Regions from separate parts of the Homo sapiens genome. Here all the other regions are linked to region 2. The links are contacts of gene promoters, found by promoter capture Hi-C in human tissues and cell types (Jung and others, 2019). All regions are on one chromosome and are shown on one strand. Each heading gives the region's core, a stretch centred on a gene start or on the middle of the fragment in contact. The rest is flanking DNA. Distances are from core to core; before and after follow the strand shown.

Region 1 (3,780 bases), core at 1,136-3,635, 41 kb before region 2:
CTGGGCAGGGTCCACCTCCAAGCCTCCCGTGCTCGTACCTGCGCCGTGCCCTCCCCTGGGGGCTCCAGGGTTCCGCCCTCCATAGGCCTGCGCCCAGCGGGGCCTGGCCGGCCGCCCCTGCCGCGCTGCCAGTGGTACGGCCCGGCCGCAAATCCCTGGTTGTCCTGGCAGCCGCCCGGGGCCCAGCCCGCGCCGCCTCCTCCCGCCGCCGCCGTAGAGCGGGGACGCCCCCGTCAGCGCCCGCCTGGCTGGCCAGGCCTGGCCCCAGCTACCCGGGGGCGGCGGTGCGTCCGCCCCGGCTCCAGGTACAGGCAACCCTCACTGAGCGGGGGGCTTAGGCAGCCCCTGTCTCGAGGGCCAGGGACCCGCTTAGGACCCCCAGAACTTAAGGGTCTGGCTTCTCGCCATCATCCTAGGTAGGCAGCAAGTAGGTCCTCCTCCTTCTGGGAAGAGGGCTGGGAGGAGAGACCAGGCAGTGATCTGATAGTGACCAAGACCTCCGGGTGGGGGGAGGCTTCTTGCTCAGATTTTGTCTCCCTGGCTGGCCCTGGAAGGGAGATGCACCCTCCCATCAAGACCTGTCCTCCCCCAAAGTTTGCACGGATAATCGGAAGGTGTGGTAGGGTGGGCTTGGGGGAAGCCAGGAGAAGGGTCTGGCTGGACTTGCGCTGCTCTAGGCCAAGCCCAGATTTGGATGATACAGAACCCCTATCTTGGGGAACACCACATCCCCGGGGGCCCAGGCAGCCTCCTAGTTCTCTGCCAGTCGCTGAAGGACACCCAGGACAGTTATTGAGTGCAGAGCAGGGCTGCTGCTGGAAGCTAAAAAGGGAAAGCTTTGGCCTGGATAAAGGACCCATCTCCCAGGGCACACGTGGGTCCCAGGATCTCAAAGCACTTATGGCTCCAGGACACAGGGGTGCAGCCTTTGTACTTACACATCAGCTGGAGACAATGGGAGGTGGGTGGGCAGACAGTACCCCTCTTTGCTCTTGCTAGGCAGGGATCTCTTGCTGGCTGAATGATGGGGTGGGAACCTGCTCTGGGCAGGCTGGGCTGGGGCAGGCTGCCCTGGGGCCCTGTTCTCAGGTGCCAGCCCCTTGCCCCTGGGCATTTCCAGGCCACGCCCCAGGAGGATGCGGACAACCTACCCGTGATTCTAGGGGAGCCAGAGAAAGAGCAGAGGGTGCAGCAGCTGGTAAGTCCTAGGTCAAGGGCTGGAGGCAGCCTGCTGTGGGCAGATGTACCTTCCCTCATGAGGAGCACTTGGTTCTGACCCCTCAGGAATCGGAGCTCAGCAAGAAGCGGAAGAAATGCGAGAGCCTGGAGCAGGAAGCCCGGAAAAAGCAGAGGCGATGTGAGGAGCTGGTGAGCTCTTGAGGGCAACCCAGAGGCCAGCTCCTCCCTTCACCCCGGCCAGCCAGGTGGTGGGCTCCCTCTCAGCTCTGCTCCCACCCCTGCTGCCCTCAAGAACACATTTTCCCTCCTGCTCCTTTCCTTTCCTGGCTGGTGCAGGTTCCAGCAGGGGAGGAAGGCCTTGCCTGGGAGGAGGGCAGGGTCCTCTGTGTGGGGAGAGGGGGAATGTGGGTGCTGGGCTCCCTCCTGAGAGCTCCTCTGCCCGCTCAGGAACTGCAGCTGAGACAAGCGCAGAATGAGAATGCCCGCCTGGTGGAGGAGAACTCCCGGCTCAGTGGGAGAGCCACAGAGAAGGAGCAGGTACCACTTCCGCCCAGGTGCTGTGGAGACCTGTGCTCCCACCACTGCCCCGGTCCCCAGCCAAGGGGCTTTCTCCTCCACCCCTGAGCAGGGGTAGGGTACTGTTCCCCCTGTGAGGGTGCTGGTGGGTCAAGGCTCACCCACCCAACTCCCTGTCACTGCCCCCTCGCCAGGTGGAGTGGGAGAATGCGGAGCTGAGGGGCCAGCTCCTGGGGGTGACACAGGAGAGGGACTCAGCCCTTCGCAAGAGCCAGGGCCTGCAGAGCAAGCTGGAGAGCCTGGAGCAAGTGCTGAAGGTGAGGAGATGGTGCAGGTGGGAGAGGGTGCTGGGCCCTGGCATGGGGAGCAAGTGGGACAGCAGAATATTCTTAGTGAGGGGCACTAGCTCTGAGGCCTGGGCCTGGAGCTGCTCCAGGCTCAGTTTCCTTTGTAATAGAGGAATCTGGAGCAAATGGTGTTTGAGGCTTCCTCATCTTAGATCTTCTCTAGAAATGGCCAAGTAGGGGCTCTGGCCTTGACTCAGATCTTGTGTTTCAGCACATGCGGGAGGTGGCCCAGCGGCGGCAGCAGCTGGAGGTGGAGCATGAACAGGCTCGGCTCAGCCTACGGGAGAAGCAGGAGGAGGTCCGGAGACTGCAGCAGGTGGGGCGGCAGTGAGGGAAGCTGGCAGGCTGCTGGACACCAGCTTTGCCACTCACTCATTCCACAAGCATTTACTGTGTGCCCGGCACTGTGCTAGGCGTCGGGGAGACTGTGGGGAACAAAGACCAGGTCCCTGAGCAGTCAGCAAATTAGCATCCAGGAGTGAGCTGATTTCAGACACTGATGAGCACAGTGGTGGAGAAGAACAGGGTGATGTGACAAAGTGACTGGGATGGGGTGAGGAGCCACTTTAGAGGTCATCAGGGAAGGCCTCCCTGAGGAGGTGACAATTGACCTTGCCAGCCAGGAGGTGTAGACATGCACATGCTCTGTGGCAGGGAAGAGCTGAAGAAGCCTGAGACCAATGTGGCTAGAATACAGCAAGGGATGGGCAGCGTGGTGGGAGTAGACAAGAACCCGATCCTGTCGGGCCTTAACGGCCATGGGAAGAGTTTGGGTATTTTGCTCTGTGAGTAGATAGAAGCTCCTGAAAGATCCTAAGTGGGGGAGTGACATGATCTGAGTCATAATTTTACAGGATCACATGGCTGGTATTATGGAGGGTGGACTGTGGGAGCAGGCGTGGAGCAGGGCCTGGGCGGTGGCCTGGGAGGGAGATGGTGGCTGTCTGGACAGAGATGCATGCAGTGGAACGGGAGACAAGTGCCTGGGTTTGAGTTATGTTTTAGAGATAGAACTGACAAGGTTCTGGCCGGGCATGGTGGCTCATGCCTGTCATCCCAGCACTTTGGGAGGCCAAGGTGGGTGGATCAGTTGAGGTCAGGAGTTCGAGGCCAGCCTGGCCAATATGGTGAATCCCCGTCTCTACCAAAAATACAAAAATTAACCTGACATGGTGGCGGGCCCCTGTAGTCCCAGCTACTCAGGAGGCTGAGGCAGGAGAATTGTTTGAACCCGGGAGGCAGAGCTTGCAGTGAGCTGAGATCGTACCATTGCACTCCAGCCTGGGCGACAGAGCGAGACTCCATCTCAAAAAAAAAAAAAAAGAATTGACAAGGATCCCCGTGGGATTCCAGTTGAATCCCTTCTCTGACAGCCATTTGCTGTATAAACCTTGGTGGAGGGTGGGGCTCTTCATACTCCGTGAGGTGAAGGATGAAGGGGCAGCAGATCTGAGAGGTAGGTCATCCCGAGTGCTGAGTTCCATTTGGGCCATGTCTGAGCTGCGCGTTAAACATTCAAGGGGAGCTGTCCACAGGCACTTGGATACATGAGCCTGGGGTTATGGGTAAGTTGGTCTTGGAGATATTTGGAGCCACCAGTGTGTTTAGTTGTATGAGTAGATGGGAGCCCTAGGAAGAGAGTAGACAATATAAACTGGGCCCAGCACTGGGTCCAGGGTAACCCTAACATTCAAAATGGGGGACAGGGAGCAGGCAAAAGAGGCTGAGAAGGAGCATC
Region 2 (3,498 bases), core at 569-3,068:
TCACAAAGAGCCACTCGACCAACTTCACACACAGCAAGTCACTGGCAGGGCAAAAGCTTGGTTCCCCTTCTCAGCAGGGGACAGAATCCCTGGACACACTGGGAAGATATTCTGGGTGTTGCTGTCCCTTGTCCCTTGGCCAAGAGGTGGTCTGGGCATAGAAGACAAGAGTGGGCCGGGCGCGGTGGCTCACGCCTGTAATCCCAACAGTGGGTGGATCAGGAGGAGGTCAGGAGTTTGAGACCAGCCTGGCCAACATGTTGAAACCCCATCTCTACTAAAAATACAAAATATTAGCCGGGCATGGTGGCGGGCGCCTGTAATCCCAGCTACTTGGGAGGCTGAGGCAGGAGAATTGCTTGAACCCAGGAGGCAGAGGTTGCAGTGAGCCGAGATTGCACCACTGTACTCCAGCTCCGCCAACAGTGAGAGACCCTGTCTCAAAAAAAAAAAAAAAAAAAAAGAGTGGGTGGCGGGAAGGTGGCTGAAGGTAGGAGGGGGAACCTAAATGGGACATGGGAGGCATGGTTGGCACGAGCTCAGCCTGACCAGGGCCCAGAGAGGTAGACTGATTCAGTCAAAAGTCGTAGTACTTTTCCTGCTGAGATTGGTGGCCCTTTTGCTGGGCTTTCTCAAGCAAGAAATATCCTCTTCTGTTTCAGAATTATTCTGAATCATTAACCCAAGTCCTCCCAACTGCACTGATCCTGTCCCAGAGAGGCCCTGGGCTGCATCACCTAACTGATCACTAACCACAACCAGTTCTGCTCTCTCCTGGTTCCTGAAATCCAGGAGCAGATGGTGGTGGGGAGGAGGAGTTTGGAGACAGCCCTCTACCAGAAGCCAAGAAGAAAGGGGAGTGAGGAGGGATAGAGGAAGTTATCTTGGTCCTGCGCCCACAGTCCCCAGGGTCCTCCTTCCTGTGAAGCCCAACGGTCTCCAGCCAGATTTCCTGTCCCCTTAGCCCCACCAAGAACCAGAGGCTGCCCATTGGGTGGCTGTTGGATGCAGGTTACTGTTGGAGTGGGGGATGGCCACCTGAGGCCAATTGGGTCATCTTTACTCCAGGTCTCCCTTTCATCCTCCTGTCTTCCCTGGGGGCACTCTATTCCCTGCAATTCCTTGGGCTACCAGTTCCTGACTTTTGTTCCTTTCAAAGGAACCCTGGATAACCAGTGTAACCAGAATTTCAGAGGGGTTAGTTGTGTGTATCCCCTGGGGACAAGCACTGGTATAGGCACACAATGGTGAGCTGAGAAATCTTGGGCTGGTAGTGCTAAATTCAAAGGCTGGGGACAGGCTGGGGCCAGTGGCTCATGCCTGTAATCCCAGCACTTTGGGAGGCTGAGGCGGGTGGATCACTTGAGGTCAGGAGTTCAAGACCAGCCTGGCCAACATGGTGAAACCCTGTATCTACTAAAAATACAAAAATTAGCTTCTTGCCTAAGGAAAAATACAAAAATTACTTCTTGCCTAAGGAAATAATTGATGATGTGGCTAGAGGCTAGGGCGTGGTGGCGGGCACCTGTAATCCCAGCTACTCGGGAGGCTGAGGCAGAAGAATCGCTTGAACCATTGCACATCAGCCTGGGCAACAGAGCAAGATAACGTCTCAAAAAAAAAAAAAAAAAAGGCTGGGGACAATGCTGGCCCCTCCTTTCCTGCCCCTTCCCCCCATTTCAGGGGCCCCTCTGTGTGTACCTTCCAACCCCAGTGGGGGAGGAGAAAGAGTTCAGTCTCCAGGATCAGACCTTCCTCTACCTCACCCCACCCCCAGCTTAGAGGACATAAAAGCGCAGATTGAGCTAAGAGGAGCTGACAATATCAGGTGAGCTGTGGAGGTGGGGTCCTTGGAAGCTGGATGACAGCAGCTGGCAAGGGGATAAGAGAGCAGTGAGCCCCTCCCTCAAGGAGGTCTGGCTTTATCCATAGACAGGGCCCTCTGAGGTGGGGCTGAGGTACAAAGGGGGATTGAGCAGCCCAGGAGAAGAGAGATGGGGGTTCCCTTCTTCTCTTCTCTCAGATGCATGGTGGACTTAGGACCTTGCTGGGCTGGGGGTCTCACTGCAGAGATGAAGCTGCTTCTGGCCCTAGCAGGGCTCCTGGCCATTCTGGCCACGCCCCAGCCCTCTGAAGGTGCTGCTCCAGGTAACAGTTCCCAAGGTGGGAGAAGATGGTGTGTTGGGGTGGTTGTGTTCCAGAGACCCCTTTTCTCAGAGCAGGCCTTCCTAGCTCTGGGGCCTGATAGGGGGTTGGGGCCCATTCCTGACTTTGTGATCCCTGCTCTGGGCAGCTGTCCTGGGGGAGGTGGACACCTCGTTGGTGCTGAGCTCCATGGAGGAGGCCAAGCAGCTGGTGGACAAGGCCTACAAGGAGCGGCGGGAAAGGTGGGGCACGAGGCACTGCCCAGCTCTGGGCAAGGATGTCCCAGGCCTTTCAGAGAAGCAGCAGGCAGCAGGGAGCTTGAAGGTGGGAGAGGGGGACTATGGGGACCCATGTGGACTCCCTTTCTGTCTGTCTGTCCCTGTGTTTCTGGATGGGAGAACAGCTTAAAAGCCATCCTTCCCAAAGCCTTGCCTCTGTCTGGACACCCAGGTCCATATCCTTTTTATAAAAGGAAGCCTTCCTCCCACCCGTGGGCCTGCCTGCATGGTCCTGCATGTCTGCCCCTGGGCTGGGGCTCTGCTGGGTGGGTCTGTATCCCTTCTCTGGCCCTCACTCCTCCTTTCTCCAAGCAGCATCAAGCAGCGGCTTCGCAGCGGCTCAGCCAGCCCCATGGAACTCCTATCCTACTTCAAGCAGCCGGTGGCAGCCACCAGGACGGCGGTGAGGGCCGCTGACTACCTGCACGTGGCTCTAGACCTGCTGGAGAGGAAGCTGCGGTCCCTGTGGCGAAGGCCATTCAATGTCACTGGTACTGTTGCCCATCACACCCCAGGTCCCTGCTCCACTAGTGACTCCTCCTAGGGACCCCAGCCGTCTCTCAGTGATCCCCTCAACTTCTTCCTCCAGGGAGTCTCAGGAGTCTCCAGGGCTCCTCAGCCTCAGGTTGCCTGGGATAGGAAGTGAGGCGGCTCAGCTCCCCCATTGTTCTTTCCCCCGGCAGATGTGCTGACGCCCGCCCAGCTGAATGTGTTGTCCAAGTCAAGCGGCTGCGCCTACCAGGACGTGGGGGTGACTTGCCCGGAGCAGGACAAATACCGCACCATCACCGGGATGTGCAACAACAGGTGCGGCTGGCTGGGGGTGGCTGCAGGAACCGGGCTCAGAGAGGCGTCCCGGACGCCACAAGCCTCCCGGTGTCAGCGCCCTGTCCTCCCCTGCAGACGCAGCCCCACGCTGGGGGCCTCCAACCGTGCCTTTGTGCGCTGGCTGCCGGCGGAGTATGAGGACGGCTTCTCTCTTCCCTACGGCTGGACGCCCGGGGTCAAGCGCAACGGCTTCCCGGTGGCTCTGGTGAGCGCCGGCGGGCAGAGGGGGCGAGGCCCGGCCACGCGG
Region 3 (3,730 bases), core at 1,078-3,577, 51 kb after region 2:
GGATGTTTTCGATGTGTCACACAACCCTAGATTTCCTTGCTATTTTTATCTTTTGAAACATTCTCCAAGAAACCTAATGTGGAAGTTCCCTCTTTTAACATAATTATGTTGTTTCACTACAAGTTGCTGGGGTTCAAGAAATCATTAATTGGGCTACTTTAAGAGCATAATGTAATTCCAATCTGCAAAAATATAGGAAATATGACATTCTCTAGAAATGGATTTAAGCATAGATCTAGGACTCATAAATAACAAGGCAGTGTTTTGACCCTGGTGATATTTGCCAAGTAAGTATAGCAAGGGGATTTTAGTCAGCCTGGCTTTGCCTCATCATGATTTATATTTGTCTGATTCTTTTAAAAAGTAAGCTTAGAGTTTGAACAACATTTCAGAAGCCTCTGGTTCAGTGATTCCCAAAGGTTGCATCTGAATCAGTGGAAAGCTTGGGAAAAATACAGGCATCCAGACTCTGCTCCTGGTCTACAGAATTCCAGCTCTGGCATTGGAGTTGGAGAACCTCTATTTCTAATAAATCTCCTGGGTGAGTCTGACATACGGGTAGATTTGGAAACTACTAATCTAGCTGAACTTTCTACCCTCTGTAGGATTCCCCACTACATCCTTGCTCCTCAAGGTATGATCCAAAGTCTTATAGCATTGGAATCTTCTGGGAGCTACTCAGAAATACAGAATCTCAGGCCCCACCCAGATGTACCAAATCAGAATCTGCATTTTCACAAAATCCCCAGGTCATATTTATTTACATTAAAGCTGACAGATGGTCATCAAGTCACTGCTTGAACACTTCCGGGGTTGGGGAGCTCAGTATTTACATGGCAACCTGCTTCATTGCTGGGAGGCTCTAATTATCTAGCTCTTTCTTATAGCAAGCTCACTCACTCATTCATGCATTCATTCTACAAATATGGGCAGACTCTAAAAAGTTGACCAAGATGACATAGTCACGTGATCACATTTCAGCCATTTTTAAATTTCAGTTCATAGGCAGAGAGAACCTCTTTTTTTTTTTTTTTTTTTTTTTTTTGATGGAGTCTCACTCTGTCACCCAGGCTGGAGTGCAGTGGCTCAACCTTGGCTCACTGCAACCTCCGCCCCCGGGTTCAAGCAATTCCCCTGCCTCAGCCTCCCGAGTAGCTGGGATTACAGGCACTGCCACGGCGTCCAGCTAATATTTGTATTTTTAGTAGAGACGGGGTTTCACCATCTTGGACAGGCTGGTCTTGAACTCCTGACCTTGTGATCCACCTGCCTCGGCCTCCCGAAGTGCTGGCATGAGCCACCGTGCCCCGCCAAGAGAGAACCTCTCTTAACAGAGATGTATTTTCTTGTTTTCACATAGGCCAGTGTGAAACTAAGGGCCTGTCTCTTGTAGAACCTTACTGAGGGCTGTAAGAAGTTGGTAACACAATCCAATATCCTGAATTTTCCCCACCATCCTCCTAATGCAACAGCCTGCATAGTATGTGGTCCCCATTCCCAGACACATCAGTGTAACTCCTTCCTATCCAAAGTGTGGTCCATGGCTCAGCAGCAGTGGCACCACCTGGGAGCTTGTTAGGAACGCAGACTCTCAGTTCCCACCAAATCAGGATCTTCATTTGAACAAGATCCCCAGGTGATTTTTTTGCACATTAAACTTCAACAGGCAGAGAAACCAGTTCTATTTCACAATCCCTTAAATAGGATTGCTAACTTTCTAGCTCATGAGCAAGCCCTATCTCTTCAGCCAATTCCATCAAGTATAAGCCTGTTAATTGCAGCATGCCTACTTCCAGGCACACATTCCGTATTACTTAGCATGCGTTTGCTGGGCCCAGGTCACCAACAAACTAGCTCAAATTGGCTTAACTAACAAGGCAAATTTCAAATTGAATGCTGGGCACATGGATGGTGATTATACGATTTGTTCCATATTTGTGTTGCTGTTGTTGGTGTAATTTTTTTTAGTTGTGGTAAAATACACATAATATAAAATTTACCATCTTAACCATGTTTAAGTGTACTGTTCAGTTTTGTCAAGTATTCACATTGCTATGCAACCAATAATTGTTCCATATTTTTTGATCATTTGAAAAAAAAAAAAACCTCTAACAAGAATCCAGGGATAGGGTTGACTTCAGGGTTGAATTACTTCAATGGGCCTGGCTTCCTTCACCCTGCAGTTCTCCTGGCTTTACCTCCTCTCAGCTTCAACTCCATCCTTCCCTTGCAGGCAAAATGGCACACAACCCCCTGCAGGGGAAGGCAGAGAATCTCACAGAAGAGAAAGAATAGCTTTCCCAGAAATCCTGGCAAGCTTTTTCTTACGTCTCACTGGCCTGAATTGGAACATGTGCCTGTTCCTTAATTGGCAAAGATATTTTAAGGGTCATTAGATTATTGCTGTAGAAAGATCACTTGGCTTTAGGGTGGGGAAGAGGTGGAGGGTAGGACTGCAGAGAGGAAGGTCAGGAGGCACCCTGTTGCAATGACGAAGGTAGGAACTAATGGTATCCTGGAAAGAGGTAGTGCCTGGTGGTCCTGGAGGTGGAGAGCTGGGAAAGGATTCCAGAGATGTTAATGCGATTGAAATCTTAATTTTCTTCCGTTCAAAGACTAAAAATACCTTTCCCTTCACCCTCTCTCAAGAGAGCAATTAAAGCTTTGTGTCCTGGAGGGCAGAATTTTCTTTGTCTTTGGGAAGATTAACAAGCCTTTGTTTTGAAAAAACAAAATAAACAAGCAAATAAACAATAGACCAAACTAACCAAACAAATAACAACAAACAAAAACACAAGTGACAAACAAACATAGCTCACAGGGCTAGGGAGCTCAATTGAGGTACGGTGGGGGGTGGGGGAGGGAGGAGGGAGAATGGAGAGGAAACTGGTAGGTTGCTGAAGCCTATAGGGTTGGAGGGATTGGTTAGTTACCTTGGAGATGCAGGACCAAGAAACAGGGAATTTCAGCTCTCTTGCAGCATTCCTGCACGGGGCAGAATTCCTGCATGGACCTCTGACAGGGTGGCACATGGATATCTGGGACTGGACTCTATAGGCTGTGGTCTTTGGAGGCCAAGTTAGTCACCAGGAGGAAGATGGACACGGTAAGCAGAGAGCAGCCTGCTCAGCTGGGAGCTTGGGGCATGACCACCCCAGCACTGACCAGCATGGATTGGAGGCCCCTTTCTGGGGCGTAGGAACTCTGCACTGAGTCCAGGAAGTGGAAGGGGCCACAATAACAACATTGAACATCGCATCAGCTCTGCTGAGGGGGAGCTTGGAGACAGGTTTAATTTAACAATATAAATTATTCTAATTATTCACATATAATGATAGTGACAGGAGGCAGCCAAATGCCTAGACAGACAGGGTTGGGTACCCACCTCCAAGTCGAAGACAATTTAAATCCTGAAAGCCAAGCTACAAGTTAAATCCTTGGACTGGATTGAGAACTTGTCCTCCTGTTTGATGTGCTTTCCTCTGATTGATCCCCATCCTTCACCTATTTCACATATATCTAGCTTTTCCTAATTGGTTTTCTACACAGTCATGCCCACCTTTGAGTGGTGTTTTCACTTTAACTTTTTTTGCATACTCACAGACCAATCAGCACGCACTCCCCATCTTGTGCCTATAAAGACCCCAGGCTCAGTCAGTAGAAGAGGAGACTCCTGACTTTGTGAAGAGACAACCTGACTTTGGGGAAGATGACCTGCCCTTCTCATTGC

Evidence for each region. Contacts are between HindIII fragments. The study calls those that stand out against the background at their distance.
Region 1: a fragment that was not itself captured here is called in contact with the fragment with the promoter of MPO in region 2 in 1 of the 25 tissues and cell types used here (adrenal gland).
Region 3: a fragment that was not itself captured here is called in contact with the fragment with the promoter of MPO in region 2 in 2 of the 25 tissues and cell types used here (bladder and pancreas).

Annotation. Positions count from the first base shown.
Region 1 is chr17:58,320,886-58,324,665 of GRCh38, reverse strand. It overlaps TSPOAP1 (TSPO associated protein 1), which reads left to right. Exons shown (of 32, transcript NM_004758.4): 6 at 1,121-1,198; 7 at 1,285-1,368; 8 at 1,627-1,716; 9 at 1,890-2,012; 10 at 2,254-2,358. Among named protein-coding and RNA genes, the nearest start is that of TSPOAP1-AS1, 2.7 kb to the left of the region's middle. RefSeq lists a silencer at 69-318. The HindIII fragment of the contact is 5,479 bases long and covers 1-3,780 here.
Region 2 is chr17:58,279,255-58,282,752 of GRCh38, reverse strand. MPO (myeloperoxidase) reads left to right here and starts at 1,818. Exons shown (of 12, transcript NM_000250.2): 1 at 1,818-2,148; 2 at 2,294-2,387; 3 at 2,739-2,914; 4 at 3,107-3,230; 5 at 3,327-3,456. The coding sequence starts at 1,995. RefSeq lists promoters at 538-738, 784-1,009, 894-1,295, 1,688-1,828, 1,234-1,828 and enhancers at 868-885, 3,470-3,498. The HindIII fragment of the contact is 18,673 bases long and covers 1-3,498 here.
Region 3 is chr17:58,228,100-58,231,829 of GRCh38, reverse strand. All of the region lies in intron 1 of LOC105371841 (a long non-coding RNA gene), which reads right to left. Among named protein-coding and RNA genes, the nearest start is that of LPO, 8.6 kb to the left of the region's middle. The HindIII fragment of the contact is 3,843 bases long and covers 406-3,730 here.